6 separate regions of the Homo sapiens genome follow, and all the other regions are linked to region 4. The links are contacts of gene promoters, found by promoter capture Hi-C in blood cells and fetal thymus (Javierre and others, 2016). All regions are on one chromosome and are shown on one strand. The core of a region is centred on a gene start or on the middle of the fragment in contact, and the rest is flanking DNA. Distances in the headings are between cores, read along the strand shown.

Region 1 (2,700 bases), core at 180-2,679, 390 kb after region 4:
GCCTGTACTGCCAGACAACTCACCTTCCACTATTCGTCCATATTTGCCAAATACTGCTTCAAGAGCTTTCTCATTTGTTTCCGTATTAAGCCCACCAATGAAGAGCTTTCCTGGGCGATCTGCTTCAACCATGTTTTTTTTTTTTTGGGCCGGTGAGTCTGTTGAAAAGGAATAGTATTACCTCACTGCAAAAAGTTCCTCAAGTTTATTGGACACTTTTACTTTCGCACATTTCTCATATTTTCCACTAAAACCATTGTTCCTTAATAACTAAAGAAAACGATAACGAGCTAAGCCTCAGCCACAGTAGGAAGCAATTTGAACTAAGTAGTTTAGTAACACTGCAATTTACATAAAACTGGTTAAAAGGGCCAACTTAACTTTTACCACTACCCTTGATCACCCTTAGCTGTTCTTAAGCAACAGCTGCTTAACATTTGAAAAAGCAACTTTTAGTTCCAGTCCTCTTGCCTTTGAAAGATTCAATTACTCATCACACCCTTCCTAACGATGGTTTTAAAAGACTCCCAAGGTCACAGGCTAGACACAGGACCTTAACACCAAGCCCTCTTCCAACGACTCCTCTTTTCCTCATTAGGATTCCCTACTAAATCCAAGGAGAAATGTGAAGTTTAAGCCAAGTTATGCCGCCCCTCTTCTTCACCGGCCCCCGCCCTACCGAAAATTCTACTATCCGGCCAAAAAGATAAAAACAAATCGTCAACATCGTTTGCTATTAAGTAACGGAACGCGGACGCACACACTAACACTCGACACTCCGTGACTGCAGCGGAACCTAATTAAAACTCGTCATTAAAAACCGCGTGTAAAAGACAAAATGGCGACACTTGGATTCAACCCAGAACCACCGACACTGGTCAGGGGACTAACTTTTACCACCAACATTGGCTGGGAACATTCAGAGGGCTTCTTCTCCGGGGCCGCCAATGAATACGAAGCCCGCAGCCCGCATGGAAGTCCACATGCCCATCATTAGCGCCAGCGCCATACCAATGCAGGTATCGCCGTGGTGCGGTCGCTCCTCGCCCCGCTCCAGCCTACAAAGCCCCGACCTCCGCTACCAACTCCCGCAGATGGCAGCCAAACTTTCTCGAGAAGCATACAACCAAACGGGCCCCCTCATTTGTTTTCCCTCGACCCCCTCAGCTTTATTTAAATAGGTCGGAACCTTTGGGTTCTTAAAATGGCGCCCGCCACCCCCATCTCCAGGGAGATATAATCCCCAGTCCTAACACGGGGAGAGTGTCACGAAAAACGGACTGAGGAAAGGAGACACGTACCGGAGGGGTGACAATGGGTTCAAGCTCCAACGAGCTCGGCGATAGGGGCTTCCTAGCAGCTCAGCACCAGTGGCGGCTGCCGGGTGCGAGGACCGAACCGCGAAGCCGCTAGCACTACTGCGCAACGAGGGCGAACAAAGGAGACAGCAAACTTTATACTGCCCGGGAACGAGGCTGAAGGACCCGGATGGAAACGGAGCTTAGAATTTGAAACGCAAAGGGAGGGGGGAAGTAGTTCCCAGTCTCCCCATTGGCTGGCTCCTCTGTCATTCACCCTTCTCTCCTCCCTTTTTCCCGGGCCCTCGGTGTTGGGTCGACAGACCTTTCTAACCGTTTTCTCTACCCCCACCCGTTCTTTACAAACGCGCTTTTTTTGCTTTACGCTAAAATGGTGCACAGGCTTCCTTTAATAAAGAACTGAAGTTTATTGAGCGTCCTAGTGGGCCGGGCACGGTGCAAAACTTTACTTTTACTTTTCCATTAACTCTTCTAATTGTCAAAATGTGATGAGGGTAGATACTCCTACTATACCAATTTTGCAGAAACGGAAAACAAAGAAGTTTTGGCAATATAATATATTTTCAAAAATTGTCTTTAACAAGTGTTTTTAGTGAGTGTGGGAATTTCTGATAAATACATGTAAATTTCAGATGAGTAAAAAACGTACAAAACAGCATGCAGATAGTACATTCATATAGAACAATTACTGAGCACCTTGTAAATGGTGGGCTCTGGGCTAGGCCAGGAAAATACAACTCCAGGGAAAAGACAAGAGTCAGGCCTGTGGGTAAGGATGCCGGATTTAATAAATGAAAATACCAGGCCGGGTGCAGTGGCTCACGCCTGTAATCCCAGCACTTTGGGAGGCCAAGGTCGGTGGATCACGAAGTCAGGAGATGGAGACCATCCTGGCTAACACGGTGAAACCCCGTCTCTTTTTAAAAATACAAAAAATTACCCAGGCGTGGTGGCACGCGCCTGTAGTCCCAGCTACTCGGGAGGCTGAGGCAGGAGAATCCGGGAGGCGGAGGTTGCAGTGAGCCAAGACTGCGCCACCGCACTCCAGCCTGGGCAGGCGACAGAGCGAGACTCCGTCTCAAAATAAAAAAGAAAATGCGGGACGCTAATTTATTCTGCGAAGCTGTTAAAAAATTTTAAATAAAAATATGGGACGCGGCCGGGGCGCGGTGGCTCATGCCTGTAATCCTAGCACTTTGGGAGGCCGAGGCGGGCAGATTGCCTGAGCTCAGGGGTTTGAGACCAGCCTGGGCAACATGGTGAAACCCCGTCTCTACTAAAATAAAAATAAAAAATAAAAAAATTAGCCGGGCGTGGCGGCGTGTGCCTGTAGTCCCAGCTACTCGGGAGGCTGAGGCAGGAGAATTGCTTGAACCCAGGA
Region 2 (2,826 bases), core at 130-2,629, 450 kb after region 4:
TTTTTGGTAGAGACAGGGTTTCGTCATATTGGTCAGGCTGGTCTCGAACTCCTGACCTCAGGTGATCCACCCGCCTCGGCCTTCCAAAGTTATTGGATTACAGGTGTAAGCCACCGCGCCTGGCCTGGAGGAATAGTTCTTGAAGTGTGTTCTGAGATCAGCAGCATTGATATCACCTGACATACAGAATCTCAGGCCTCATTTAGGATCTAATGAATCAATCTGCATTGTAGCAAGACCCCTGAGTGATTTGTATGAACTTTGATTTTTTTTGTTTTTCAACGTATTACTATCTTTATTATGGTATAGAGTAGTATTTTATACATAGCTCATTTTATAGCAAAAACATTTATGTACAACTGTAGAGAAACCACTACACAGATAGCTCCAATTTAAATTAGAAAACATTTTGCCGGGCGTGGTGGCTCACACCTGTAATCCCAGCACTTTGGGAGTCCGAGGCGGGCGGATCACCTGAGGTCAGGAGTTTGAGACCAGCCTGGCCAACATGATGAAACCCCGTCTCTACTAAAAATAAAAAAATCAGCTGGGCATGGTGGCCGTGCGCCTGTAGTCCTAGCTACTCGGGAGGCTGAGGCAGGATTCATGCCAATCGCTTGAACGTGGGAGGCAGAGGTTGCAGTGAGCTGAGATTAAGCCACTGCACTCCAGCTTGTGCAACAGAGTGAGACTCTGTCTCAAAAAAAAAAAATTAAAAAAAAATTGCAGCTTATTTATCTCTACAAGGTGTTGCCAACGAGAAATAAAAGAGGAATTAAAAGGTTTAGGGCATATTTATAAATAACAGGAGTAAACATAGCTTCTAAGAGATGCCAGGAAATGCCTTACCAATGTCAAGGACAATCACTCATGCTTTTTTATGTCACTTCTGATATTTGGAAACAGAATTAAGGTGATGGACTGTGAGGTCTGACTCAGGCTGCTTGCTCATATTTGAATGGATTTGGTTAAAAAGGTAGTAAACAAAGTGTGATCATACAGGAAGCTAATCTCACCAGCTATGTGAAAATCAAGCTTAATGCTTTGTAGTCACATCTCATATTCTCATACTCAGAGGAAAAAAGCCAAGAAAATAATCTTCTACAGTTGTATTTATTCTACACTGCCTACAGAAATAGTTTATGTGTACATACAATCAAACTTTTATCTAATCGCTGTAAAGGTCATTTATATAGGCCCCCCGAGGGCAAGGACTGTGTTATAATTTATCTTTTTCAGAATTAAACAAGCTGCCCAAGGCCATGGAAGTGAGTTAGACCTAGCTGTTTGCTAGGTCTACAGTCTTGTGTTTTATTTTAGGCACTGTGGCTGGCTAATAATTTCCCTGACTTTTACCATAGTTAATCATCTCTTTTTCTTTTCTTTCTTTTTTTTTAAGAGACAGGGTCTCACTCTGTCACCTAGGATGGAGTGCAGTGGTGCCATCATAGGTCACTGTAGCCTTGAACTCCTGGGCTCAAGTGATCCTCCCACCTCAGCCTCCTGAGTAGCAGGGACTACAGGCATGCACCACCATGTCTGGCTGTATTTTTATTTTTATTTGTAGAGATGGGGTCTCGCTATGTTGCCCTGGCTGGTCTTGAACTCCTGGCCTCAACTGATCTTTCCACCTCGGCCTCCCAAAGTGCGGGGATTACAAGTGTGAGCCGCTACACCCGACGTCTTATTCTTAAAATACTTGCTTCATTTGAGTTTTAGGTTACCAAGCTTTCCTGGTTTCCTGTCTCACTGGTCACTTCTTACTGGTCACTTCTTAATCTCCTCCTCATTTTTGTAAACTCCTAATGTGGGAGAGCCCTCAGACTCAACTCAGTCTTTGAACTTTTTATCTTCTTTAGTTATACTCATACTTTGGTAGTCTTACCTGTCTCATGGTGTTACCATGATGACTGTTAGATCTCTAGACTTGTATATTTATCTGTCTATTTGACATGTCTGCTTGTTTTTTTTTGTTTGTTTGTTTGTCTTTTTTTTTTTTTAGACAGAGTCTTGCTCTGTTGACCAGGCTGGAGTGCAGTGGCGTGATCTCTGCTCATTGCAGCTTCTGCCTCCTGGGCTCAAGTAATTCTCCTGCCTCAGGCCCAAGCGATTCTCCTACCTCAACCTCCTGAGTAGCTAGGATTACAGGTGCGCACCACCATACCTGGCTAATTTTTGTATTCTTAGTAGAGACGGGGTTTCAGCATGTTGGCCAGGCTGGTTCTGAACTCCTGACCTCAAATGATCTGCCCGCCTTGGCCTCTCAAAGTGTTGGGACTACAGGCATGAGCCACAGCGCTTGGCTAGGACATGACCACTTGGATGTGCTTCCCCTGTTGTTTTTCCCATCTCAGTAAGTGGCAACTCCATCTTTGCAGTTGCTCAGGCCACAAATCATGGCATCACCCTTAATTCCTCTTTTTCACTCTTCACTCATACCCCCTATTCAGTCCAATCCTTTGACAGACCATGTGGCTCTCTCCCTTTGAAATATTTCAGAATCCACCACTTCTCAACTCCTCTACCACTATCATCTGGTCCAAGATATCATTTTACCTCACTTGGACTATTGCAAAAACCTAGCCAGTCTCCCTGCTGCTACCCTTATTTTCTAGGGGTCTGTTCTCAATACAGTATTCAGAGCATTTCTTTGGAAATGTCAGCTCTTTTCAATCCTCTGCTTAGAATCTTCCATTGACTTCTCATCTTACTTAGAGTAAAAGCCAAAGTTCTGAAACTGGCCTATAAAGCCTTGTGCAGCCCATATATAAGGCCAGAGGTTTATAATAAAATAGTGCTTCTACTTCGGTGAGAGCTCTTAACATG
Region 3 (2,786 bases), core at 278-2,777, 450 kb before region 4:
CCCTGTTAACAAAGCCCACCAGTTTTGACTACTTAGGTGCAACACGCAGAACCTTGAGAGGGGAAGCTGTAGTGAAGCTGTGTAGACATGCACCACACACACCTCCCTCCCCGTGCCCCCATTCCCTGTGAGTGAACCTCATGTGAAACCAGATTGTATAAGAAATGGACAGGAGAGAGTAGGCAGAGTAGGGGTGGCATCTGGGCCAGGGAGGAGCATCCTACGGCTTTGTGTTATGTCGTGTCAGTGCATGTTTCTGACAGACTGTGCCTGTGAGATGGGGCACACACCCCATGTTGCCCCTCCTCTCCCTTCCACATTGCCCAGGCTCGCCTCTCAAACATTGTCTCCATTTCCACCATGCCCTGTTAACCCACATAACTGTGCAGAGAAGTCAGCCAGCTCTGTTGGTTCAGGCAGTGAAGCTTGGCTCTTGGATTCCAGAGACCCACTCGCTGTCACCAAAAGCCAGAAGAGGTCCACAACAAACCTGTGTCCTTGGAATGTAGCGAAACACAACAGGCTCCCTAGAGCAGCTGTAACAAAGTACCAAAACCGAATGGCTTAAACAATAGAAACTTATCATCTCTTATTTCTGGAGGCTAAAATCCAAAGTCAAGTTGTTGGCCGGGTCAGTTCCTTCTAGGCTGTGAGGGAGAATCTGCTCCAGGCCTCTCTTCTAACTCCTGGTGGCTTCCTGGCTATCTTGGACCTTCCTTGACTTACAGATGCATCACTATGTATCTCTACTTTCATCTTCACATGGGGTTCTACCTGTGTGCATGCCTACTTCCGTGTCCAAATTTCTCCTATTCATAAGGACACCAGTCATATTGAATCAGGGCCTACCTTATTTCCAAACAAGACCCTATTTCCAAACAAGGTTACATTCACAGGTGCTGGGGGTTAGGACTTCAACATCTTTTGGTGGGGGGTTGGGGAGGGACACAATTTAACCCATAACAACCATCACACTTAATTTTTTTTTTTTTTTTAGACAGAGTCTCACTCTGTCACCCAGGCTGGAGTGCAGTGGCGCGATCTTGGCTCACTGCAACCTCTACCTCTCAGGTTCAAGCGATTCTTATGCCTCAGCCTCCCAAGTAGCTGGGATTACAGGTGTGCACCACCACACCCAGCTCATTTTTCTGTATTTTTTAGTAGAGACGAGGTTTCGCCATGTCAGCCAGGCTGGTCTTGAACTCCTGACCTCAAGTGATCCACTCACCTTGGCCTCCCAAAGTGTTGGGATTACAGGCATGAGCCACTGCACCTGGCCCAAACGTAATTTTTTATATTATCTTTGTTAACTGCTTTTTTTAGTTATAACACTAGCAAGCTCATGGCCAAATATCCATACAGTATGGAATGTACAAAATGAAAAATCAAAGTTGCCTTCCTCCTACCTGCAGTCCTCGAGGCAGTCTTTATTATAGGCTCACTGTGGATACTTCCTGATATATTTTATTGCAAATAAATATGTGTATATATGGCTTTGTTATTGTTTTACACAAATGGGATTATAATAGGCATATTGTCCCATTACTTGCTTTTTTTTTCAATTACTGACACATCATGGATACCTTTATATGTGAGTATGTTAGATGTCTTACCTTCTCTTTTCATGGCTACGTCCTATTCCATTTCATAGCTGTAGCAAAATTCATGTATTCAGTCTCTTATGGATAGATGTTTCAGTCATTTCCTTTTTTGCTATTATAAACAATACTTATAGTGAATATTCTTTTACATATAAACTTACCTAACTATGTAAAAGTATATAGAATAGATTTTAAAGGTAAAATCACTGGGTCAAAAGGCATGTGCATTTTAAAATTTGATAGATATTGCCCCAAACCTCAAACTTAATAAAGACACTAGAAGGTGCTGAAGAGCCCCTGTGGACCTGTGAAGGAGCCACAGAGCTTGTGAGTATTGCTGAATTAAGTGATAGATACTGGTTAGATAGACTTACTGTCCTAACTAGATTAGACAGGAAGGGATTTGGGCTGGTTGGTGGATATGAGTTTGTTTGTTTGTTTTTGAGATGGGTTCTGGCTGTGTTGCCCAGGTTGGCCTCAAACTTCTGGGCTCAAGCAGTCCTCCTGCCTTAGCCTCCCCAGTAGCTAGGACAATAGACATGTGCCACCCATACCCAGCCGTTTATTTTTCAGTTCACACTTTTTTTGGTCTTTGAGTATTTAGGGGAATTTCTAGCAACAGCAGATTAAATTCCTTTTTAGATTTTGTCTAATAGTCTTCTCAGTCTATTTGATGGTCTTAGACAAATTCAAAATTTTCAAACAGACATGGGATTTAGAAAGCTGGAGAATATACTTCCCTCAAGGAGCATCAATGACAGACTGTTTTATGCTAGATCAATGTGAATATTTAGAATGATCCTTTCTCTTTAAAGTCATTTAGAAAAAATGACTTGTTCTGTTTTTTAAAAGTAATATATACTCATTATAATAAAATTTCAGATAATACAGAAACATAAAGAAGAAAAGACTTTTCTATACACACATTTTTTATTTGCCAATATGGGACTATGTATTCCTGATTCTTTTCCCTTTTGTAGAACCTTATTTAAGTATACTATTTTGGTCGTAATATTTCCATGAGAACCAAAGCTTATGGAGCTGCAGTGAGGGCTTGATATGTTTCTCTGTACCCCAAACTGTATTAGGTGGTTGGACTACGTAGCATTCACCCTGTGTCTTCACCACATGTGAATCGGTCTGCTCCTGCCACACACTAGACTCTAAGCCTCTTGAGGGCAGATT
Region 4 (2,846 bases), core at 347-2,846:
CTTAAACCACATCTGTCTTCCACCCTTCATGAAATTAAGGAGGTAATTGATTCAATTCATCCACTTCACTTTCTCTGAAGAACTGATTGCCCCTACTAAGTATAAAGAACAACCTTTGTTGTTCCCCCTGTTCATTAGCTAGCCAAATACTTTGCTCTTTTTCACTTCGCTCCCCAGACTACTTTCTAATATGGTTATATTTATGAACACCTCACTACATGGTTTCTAGCTGAGAGATTATGCATTGCATTTGATAATTTCAGAGAATATTTCTTAGCAGCTTCAATTAGTAACTACACTCCAACTGCTAGCTTCCTGCTCCCAAACAGTGCCCCCACCACAAACACATACATATAAAGCACATGGTTATGTTTTCTGTAAAAAGTAGCTTCTCTGGCTGGTACTGAGGTGGTTGCCTTAAATGTGTACTTCTTTCAGTTGATGTAAACATCATCTACATGCCCATCATCCCTGGAGTCACCTATTTCATTTCTTCATCTGCAAATGATGATTTTCATTCTTAAAAGTTCTTTTGTGTCAGGAGCTTGAGCAGTGATGTTCTGTATTGTTTTGTTTTGGAATAAGGCAGGTTAGGTTCCCTTTAACCATTTCTAGAGAGAAAAATCCTAAACAGCCCCTTAAAAGAAAACATGGCATTAAAACAGACAGTCAAACAGTAAAAAGTGGTTTTATTAGGACATTTAGAGACAAAGCAACTGGTGCTGTGCCTGGATTTTTCATCTCTTAAAAGGTTGTTTTGGCTGGGTGTGGTGGCTCATGCCTGTAATCCCAGCACTTTGGGAGGCTGAGGCAGGCGGATTGCCTGAGGTCAGGAGTTCAAGACCAGCCTGGCCAACATGGTGAAACCCTGTCTCTACTAAAAATACAAAAATTAGCCAGGCATGGTGGCGGGCGCCTGTAATCCCAGCTACTCGGGAGACTGAGGCAGGAGAATTGCTTGAACCCAGGAGGTGGAGGTTGCAGTGAGCCAAGATCGAGCCACTGCACTCCAGCCTGGGTGACAGAGTGAGACTCCATCTCAAAAAAAAAAAAAAAATTAAAAAGGTTGTTTTGATAGTGTACAGCACAGCCTGGATAACTGCAAAGTTGGGGTTTACCACGTGACAGAGCTAGGTATTAAGCCCAAGTGACCTGAATGATCACTCCTTGGAGGTGACATAAACCCTGTCGAAGTGTAAATGATCTGTTGCTTCACCATCTCTCTGATATTAAATTTTGAGGAGTGGGTTCAAGGTTGTGCTTCAGGGGACACCTACACTTATTTATCATGTAAAACAAAATGCACTAGACTACCATGTGATTGCAGGGGGATAAATGGTTTTTTTCTTAAAAAAAATTGACAAAACCTATATAGACCATCCTGGGTAGATATGAAAACAGGGTGATTCTAATAATAAATAAGACGATTTAATAGGGTCTAGTTGGTCCCAAGATTCCCCAACAGGGAAGAATAAGCAACTGCAGAGCATTTCCCCAGCCCCCTCCCTCTCCTTATGACAGGACACGCCAATAAAACTCCACCTCCTACTCTTCAGTGCCAGATGGGTAAGCATTTAGCCAAGCATGCTGGGAGACACACAGAACTGAAGCAAAGGAGTATCTGGATGTCTTGGATTTTCTTCCCATTCTGTTCTGTTCTGTTCTCCTAATACCATCTCGTTACTAGACGTAGGCATTGGACGTGACAATCAACTGCATTTGAACTGAGAAGAAGAAATATTAAAGACACAGTCTTCAGAAGAAATGGCTCAAAGGCAGCCTCACTCACCTAATCAGACTTTAATTTCAATCACAAATGACACAGAATCATCAAGCTCTGTGGTTTCTAACGATAACACAAATAAAGGATGGAGCGGGGACAACTCTCCAGGAATAGAAGCATTGTGTGCCATCTATATTACTTATGCTGTGATCATTTCAGTGGGCATCCTTGGAAATGCTATTCTCATCAAAGTCTTTTTCAAGACCAAATCCATGCAAACAGTTCCAAATATTTTCATCACCAGCCTGGCTTTTGGAGATCTTTTACTTCTGCTAACTTGTGTGCCAGTGGATGCAACTCACTACCTTGCAGAAGGATGGCTGTTCGGAAGAATTGGTTGTAAGGTGCTCTCTTTCATCCGGCTCACTTCTGTTGGTGTGTCAGTGTTCACATTAACAATTCTCAGCGCTGACAGGTGAGTTTCTTTTCTCCATTATATTTGCCAGGATGTGAAATTGGGCAAAAAGAAAGGAAAGCTTGTACTTAGCATTTACTGGCTACTATTCTGCTTTTCTCACACTCTGTAACGTGGATGTGAGATTGGAAAATCTGGTGGCATTTAAAATAAAAGTTAGTGTAAGAATGTTAAAATTTCTGTGTTAGCACGGAGGAGAAGTTGAAATTGCATGCTTTATGGATAATTTATTCTTATTGTTTGCTCGGAAGTATACTGAACGGGGTTTTTATTTTTCTCCAGTTTATTAAGTAAAGCAAATTGTTCCAGGTGTAAAGGAAAAAAATTCATGCTTTATACATTAGTGCAGCCTAGTGGTGCAATATAGTCAACATGAAAACCAGGATAGGTGTGAAATTGACCACATATGTATAACTGTATATTGGAAGAGTGGTAAAAAGACACAGGCATCTAATTTATTTGAAATTCATCAAATTAGCTAATGGCAGAAAAACGGTGAGGTTTTCAACTCCCTGGTAACTTAGTGTAATGTCATCACGTAATTCTACTTGTTTTCTCTGTAGGCATTCAGTGACATTATCATTTCCAGAGAAATAAATTAATCTTGGTTGACTTTTAGAGCTCTGTGGAGAGAGCGTGTGAGATCCT
Region 5 (2,700 bases), core at 31-2,530, 440 kb after region 4:
GGAGTTTTACCAGGTTGGCCAGGCTGCTCTTGAACTCCTGACCTCAGATGATCTGCCCACCTTGGCCTCTCAAAGTGCTGGGAATACAGGTGTGAGCCACCACGCCTAGCCACAGTATAGTTTAAACTTGACTTTTTATATGTCTTTTGTCAACATTTTACTATGAGCATTTTCAAACAGAAAACTTGGGTGGGCCAGGCGCAGTGGCTCACGCCTATAATCGCAGCACTTTGGGAGGCTAAGGTGGGAGGATCGTTTGTGCCCAGGAGTTGGAGATCAGCCAGGGCAATATTGCAAGACCCCATCTCTCCAAAAAGTTTTTAAAAATTGGTGCATGGTGGCATGCATCCGTAGTCCCAGCTACTCAGGAGGCTGAGGTGGGAGGATCGCTTGAGCCCAGGAGGCTGAGGCTACAGTGAGCTGTGATAGCACAACTGCACCCCAGTCTGGGTGATAGAGTGATACCCTGTCTCAAAAAAAAAAAAAAAAAAAATAGAATTATATAGTGGACACTCATCTATCCAACATTTATATTCTGCAATTACCATTTTGCTCTATTTGATTTATCACATATCTGTCCATCCCTGTATCATTCAATCCAATCCATTGTGCATGTTCCTGTGTCCTATATTTCCTGCAAATTGGCAGCTGGATCCAGTGGCTTGATCAGATTCAGGTTTGGCTTCTTTGAGAAGGTGAGGTGGCAGTTGTGTTCTTTCATCAGGAGGCACATGATTTTTTTTGTCTCTCTTTTTTGTTGTGATACCTGGGTTCATTCATTCATTAGGGGCTGCAGCATGCTGAAAGAAAACAGAAGCCTGTGGAGTGAGCCAAGATCAACCAGGAAATAAACCCTTTCCCTTGCGATGTCTCTCCAGCGCCCTCTACTGACAAACCTGCTTTAGTGCCAGTTTGTAGAGGTAAACTATTTAAAGGGTCTGAATTATTTTCATGGGGGGCAAAACTCATGAATTTGGAGCTGAGAGGCAATATATCAATAACAGACACACCTTACACGCATGTACGGACCAGATAAGGAAAACTCTACATATTTCCAGAAACTTATCTGTGTGCAGCTCTGTTCTCTCTGGTCCTCTGCTCCATGAATTCTAGTGCCTTTGGCCTCCCTGGACTTTGAACTTTGTTTTCTCAACCCTAGGAGACTGCAGGGCTGTGCATGGATACCTTTTCCCTGTGTCACAGCCTGGAAATTTTATCTAGGAAGTAAGCTGGAGGCAATAGTAGGGCTTATCTTATTTGTTCCCCTTCCCTAGGTGATCACTCTTATATTTCTTGTCCAATGTTTGGAAACTGTTGCTTTACATATTTTACTCATTTTTAAAGTTGTGTAAGTAGGAGGGTAAATCTGGTCTTTGTTATTCTACCATGTCTTGGGCCAAGAAGGAAGTCCCACCTCCTTATTTTCTTTTTTAAGAAACATATTTTTATTTATTTATTTATTTATTTATTGAGATGGAATTTCGCTCTTGTCGCCCAGGCTGGAGTGCATTGGCACAATCTCAGCTCACTGCAACCTCTGCCTCCCAGGTTCAAGTGATTCTCCTGACTCTGCCTCCAGAGTAGCTGGGACTACAGGCACCTGCCACCATGCATGGCTAATTTTTGTATTTTTGGTAGAGATGGGGTTTCGCCATGTTGGCCAGGCTGATCTCGAGCTCCCGACCTCAGGTCATCCACCTGCCTTGGCCTCCCAAAGTGCTGGGATTACTGGCGTGAACTACTGTTCCCGGCCTGTTTTATTTTTAATTTTAATTTTTACTTTTAAAGTTGACAAAGTGTTTATATTTACGGTGTACAACATGCTGTTTTGATATATGCTTGCATTGTGGAATGACTGAATCAGGCCACCTTTTTTTTTTTTTTTTTTTTTTGAGACAGAGTTTCACTCTTGTTGCCCAGGCTGGAGTGCAGTGGCGCAATCTTGGCTCACCGCAACCTCCACCTCCTGGGTTCAAGCGATTCTCCGGCATCAGCCTCTTGAGTAGCTGGAATTACAGACATGTGCCACCATGCTTGGCTTATTTTGTATTTTTAGTAGAGACGGGTTTGTCCACGTTGGTCAGGTTGGTCTTGAACTCTTGACCTCAGGTGATCTGCCTGCCTCTGCCTCCCAAAGTGTTGGGATTATAGGCGTGAGCCACCGTGTCCGGCCTTGCTTTCTTTTTGTATGCATTTGCTTGGTATAACTTTGCTTATCCTTCTATTTTTAAGTTTTCAGAATCTCTTTGTTTTAGATATGTCTCTTGTGTACAACATATTGTTTGTTTGTTTTTGAGACCGAGTCTTGCTCTGTCACCTAGGTTGGAGTGCAATGCCATGATCTTGGCTCACTGCAACCTCTGCCTCCTGTGTACAAGCAATTCTCCTGCCTCAGCCTCCCAAGTAGCTGGAATTACAGGCATGCGCCATCACACCTGGCTAATTTTTGTTTTTTTAGTAGAAACGAGGTTTCACCATATTGGTCAGGCTGGTCTCGAACTCCTGACCTTTTGATCCACCCGCCTCGGCCTCCCAAAGTGCTGGGATTACAGGCGTGAGCCACCACACTCAGCCTATGTCTACACTTTTTATTTATTTTTTAATTTTACTATTATTTTTTGACAGAGTCTCGCTTTGTTGCCCAGGCTGGAGTGCAGTGGCACAATCTTGGCTCACTGCAACCTCCACCTCTGGATTCAA
Region 6 (2,757 bases), core at 185-2,684, 500 kb before region 4:
GACTATAAATTGACCAGAAGGATCCCTCCTCTCTGCTCCCTCCCTGCTTCCTGGGCAACTACTGCCTTTTTTTTTTTTTGGACAGAGTTTTTGCTCCATTGTCCTGGCTGGAGTGCGGTGGCATGATCTCAACTCACTGCAACCTCCACCTCCTGGGTTCAAGCAACTTTCCTGCCTCAGCCTCCCAAGTAGCTGGGATTACAGGTGCCTGCCACCACGCCCGGCTAATTTTTGTATTTTTAGTAGAGATGAGGTTTCACTATGTTGGCCAGGCTGGTCTCGAACTCTTGACCTCAAGTGATCCACCCGCCTCGGCCTCCCAAAGTGCTAGGATTACACGTGAGCCACTGCGCCCGGCTGGCAACGACTGCTCTTATACCTCCTCATTTCTGCTTCATCACTTCTCACTTGGGTCTGGTTTCCACTCCTGCTACTCCACTGAAACTGCTCTTATCAAGGTCACCTATGGCCTCCTTGTTGCCAAACCCAATGGATACTTCTAATGCCTGCCTTACTCGACTTTACTATAGCATTTGATAGTTTTTATCACTTCCTTCTCCTCAAAAATGAATTTTTTCCCTTTCTTCCTGACTTTGCCACCACTGGTTCCTTTTTTTTTCTACTCCTGTGGGTTTTCCTTCTCAGACTCCTTCATCAGCTCCTTCTCCTCTAGCAGCCCCTTAATGTTGGCTGTTAATAGATCAAACCCCAGATCTATATCATAGTCTTCTTCCCATTTTACTTGCTCCCCTGGCGATCTCATCTACATCTGACTTCAACCATCTTATGACTGCACAGTGTATATCTCCAGTTGAGACCCCTCGCTTTAGCTCCAGATACCACATACTCAACTATGCGTGTGTCACAAGTACATCCAACTCAACGTGTCCAAAACTGAATGTAGCCTTTTCCCCTGTAAATCTGTTCATCTGTGTATGTTCCTTACCTCATTGAATGTCCTTGTTATCCCCCTCGGTGCTCAGGCCAACTTACCCACCTGGTTACCAAATCAATTAAGGTTCCTCTTAGTCTTTCATCTCCCTTCCTCAGTCACTAAATCTTCCTAAAATATAATACCTTCAAAAAATCCTTCTCGCCTCCTGTCAGTACTCTCTTAGGTTAGGACCTAAACTCTTATTGCCTGAATGCCTACAGTAGCCCTGTATCTAGCCTTTTAGACCCTCTTTAGTCTAGACCAGTCTTTCTAAAGTAGAAATCTGCTATCAAGCCTCTGCCTTCTATGACTTCATTTTACTTTTGGGATAAACTTCAAATTCCCTTCCCCAACAGATAAGATCTTTTATGATTCAACTCCTGCCAATCTTTCAAACCTCAACTCTTGTCACTTTATAAGCCAGCCATACTAAACTACTTGATTCACTGGATGGGCTGTGTTGTCTCCATCCTTGACTGATATGTACTACTATTCCCCTACGTGGAATATACCCATTTCTTCTAGTTTGTTACCTGCCCAGGTGACATCTCTGGAAAGACTTCCCTAATGTCTTACTCCCCCAGGGTTGCATAGTTGTCTCTTTTCTGTTTTTATAATACCTTGTATACATATATATATATAGCATTATGATTGTTTATTCAGTCTGTTTTCACCAACTGGACCGAGTTTTCCTTGACATTATGATTGTTTATTCAGTCTGTTTTCACCAACTGGACCGAGTTTTCCTTGAAGGAGGGACCTTGTTTTCATCTCTGAACCCTGGAGGCCTACCTAGCATAGTACACTCATTCACGTATTAAAAGAATGGCTGGCTAGTCAGAATGAAAGGCAATAGGAAGGTAAAATGCAGCTAGTAGTGGTATACTATGCATGGAGTTAAGGAAAGTTCCAGAAGTTTGGGTTTTATTTGTAGTTGAGGTATGTCCATACAATGAAATATCGTTTGGTCGTAAAAGTAAATGAGGTTCTGATGCATGCTACAACATAGATAAACCTTGAAAATATGCTAAGTGAAAGAAGTCAGACACAAAAGGCCATATATTGTAGGAGTTCATTTATATGAAATGTCTAGAAAAGACAGGTCCATAAAGAAAGAAAGTAGATGAGTGGTTGCCAGGGGCTGTGGATTCGGGCATGGGGGAATGGAGAGTGACTGCTAGTAGGTGTGGGGTTCTTTTTGGAGGGAAGGAAAATGTTCTAGAATTAGATAGTGGTGATTGATGTTCAACTTTGTGAATACACTAAAGACCACTGAATTGTACAGTTTTTAAAAGGATAAACTTTTGGTGTTTGAATTAGATATCAGTAAAGCCATTACTAAACAATTATAGTCGATCAATATAGTTTTATAGGGCTGGGCATGGTGGCTCAGGTCTGTAATCCCAGCAGTTTGGGAGGCCGAGGTGGATGGATTACAAGGTCAGGAGTTCGACCTTGGTCAGGAGCCTGGCCAACATGGTGAAACCCCATCTCTACTAAAAATACAAAAATTAGCCAGGTGTGTTGGTGTGAGCCTATAATCCCAGCTACTTGGGAGGCTGAGGCAGGATAATTGATTGGACCCGGGAGGCGGAGGTTGCAGTGAGCCGAGATCATGCCACTGCACTCCAGCCTGGGCAACAGAGCAAAATTTCGTCTCAGAAAAAAAAAAAATTTAGTTTTACAGTACCTAGAACATTGTGCATATTTGAATGTCAGTAGGATGATCCAGCAATCTGTTTGATGTCATAGTGCCAGATTCAGGACTTCTATTCCATGTTTTGATTTTGAAGCAGATTTTTAAAATTAAAATCTGATCTTTT

Evidence for each region. The method cuts DNA at HindIII sites, captures the fragments that hold promoters and counts their contacts. A CHiCAGO score of 5 or more calls a contact.
Region 1: the fragment with the promoter of RBMX here is called in contact with the fragment with the promoter of BRS3 in region 4 in 9 of 17 cell types (naive CD8 T cells, neutrophils, naive B cells and 6 more); the score reaches 10.1 in naive CD8 T cells.
Region 2: a fragment that was not itself captured here is called in contact with the fragment with the promoter of BRS3 in region 4 in 3 of 17 cell types (activated CD4 T cells, non-activated CD4 T cells and total B cells); the score reaches 10.0 in activated CD4 T cells.
Region 3: a contact is called between a fragment that was not itself captured here and the fragment with the promoter of BRS3 in region 4, in 2 of 17 cell types (activated CD4 T cells and non-activated CD4 T cells). The highest score is 7.1, in activated CD4 T cells.
Region 5: a contact is called between a fragment that was not itself captured here and the fragment with the promoter of BRS3 in region 4, in 2 of 17 cell types (non-activated CD4 T cells and neutrophils). The highest score is 5.6, in non-activated CD4 T cells.
Region 6: a contact is called between a fragment that was not itself captured here and the fragment with the promoter of BRS3 in region 4, in 1 of 17 cell types (naive B cells). The highest score is 5.6, in naive B cells.

Annotation. Positions count from the first base shown.
Region 1 is chrX:136,879,296-136,881,995 of GRCh38, forward strand. RBMX (RNA binding motif protein X-linked) reads right to left here and starts at 1,430. Exons shown (of 9, transcript NM_002139.4): 1 at 1,302-1,430; 2 at 24-158. The coding sequence starts at 132. RefSeq lists enhancers at 355-954, 756-815, 826-1,285, 955-1,553. The HindIII fragment of the contact is 13,799 bases long and covers 1-2,700 here.
Region 2 is chrX:136,940,885-136,943,710 of GRCh38, forward strand. No RefSeq gene overlaps it. Among named protein-coding and RNA genes, the nearest start is that of RBMX, 62 kb to the left of the region's middle. The HindIII fragment of the contact is 693 bases long and covers 1,034-1,726 here.
Region 3 is chrX:136,041,199-136,043,984 of GRCh38, forward strand. The region is part of intron 17 of SLC9A6 (solute carrier family 9 member A6); the gene reads left to right. Among named protein-coding and RNA genes, the nearest start is that of SLC9A6, 57 kb to the left of the region's middle. The HindIII fragment of the contact is 2,208 bases long and covers 424-2,631 here.
Region 4 is chrX:136,486,351-136,489,196 of GRCh38, forward strand. It overlaps BRS3 (bombesin receptor subtype 3), which reads left to right and starts at 1,597. Exons shown (of 3, transcript NM_001727.2): 1 at 1,597-2,198. The coding sequence starts at 1,765. The HindIII fragment of the contact is 2,387 bases long and covers 1-2,257 here.
Region 5 is chrX:136,924,460-136,927,159 of GRCh38, forward strand. No RefSeq gene overlaps it. Among named protein-coding and RNA genes, the nearest start is that of RBMX, 45 kb to the left of the region's middle. RefSeq lists an enhancer at 759-898. The HindIII fragment of the contact is 6,538 bases long and covers 1-2,700 here.
Region 6 is chrX:135,991,197-135,993,953 of GRCh38, forward strand. All of the region lies in intron 2 of SLC9A6 (solute carrier family 9 member A6), which reads left to right. Among named protein-coding and RNA genes, the nearest start is that of SLC9A6, 7.1 kb to the left of the region's middle. The HindIII fragment of the contact is 6,390 bases long and covers 1-2,757 here.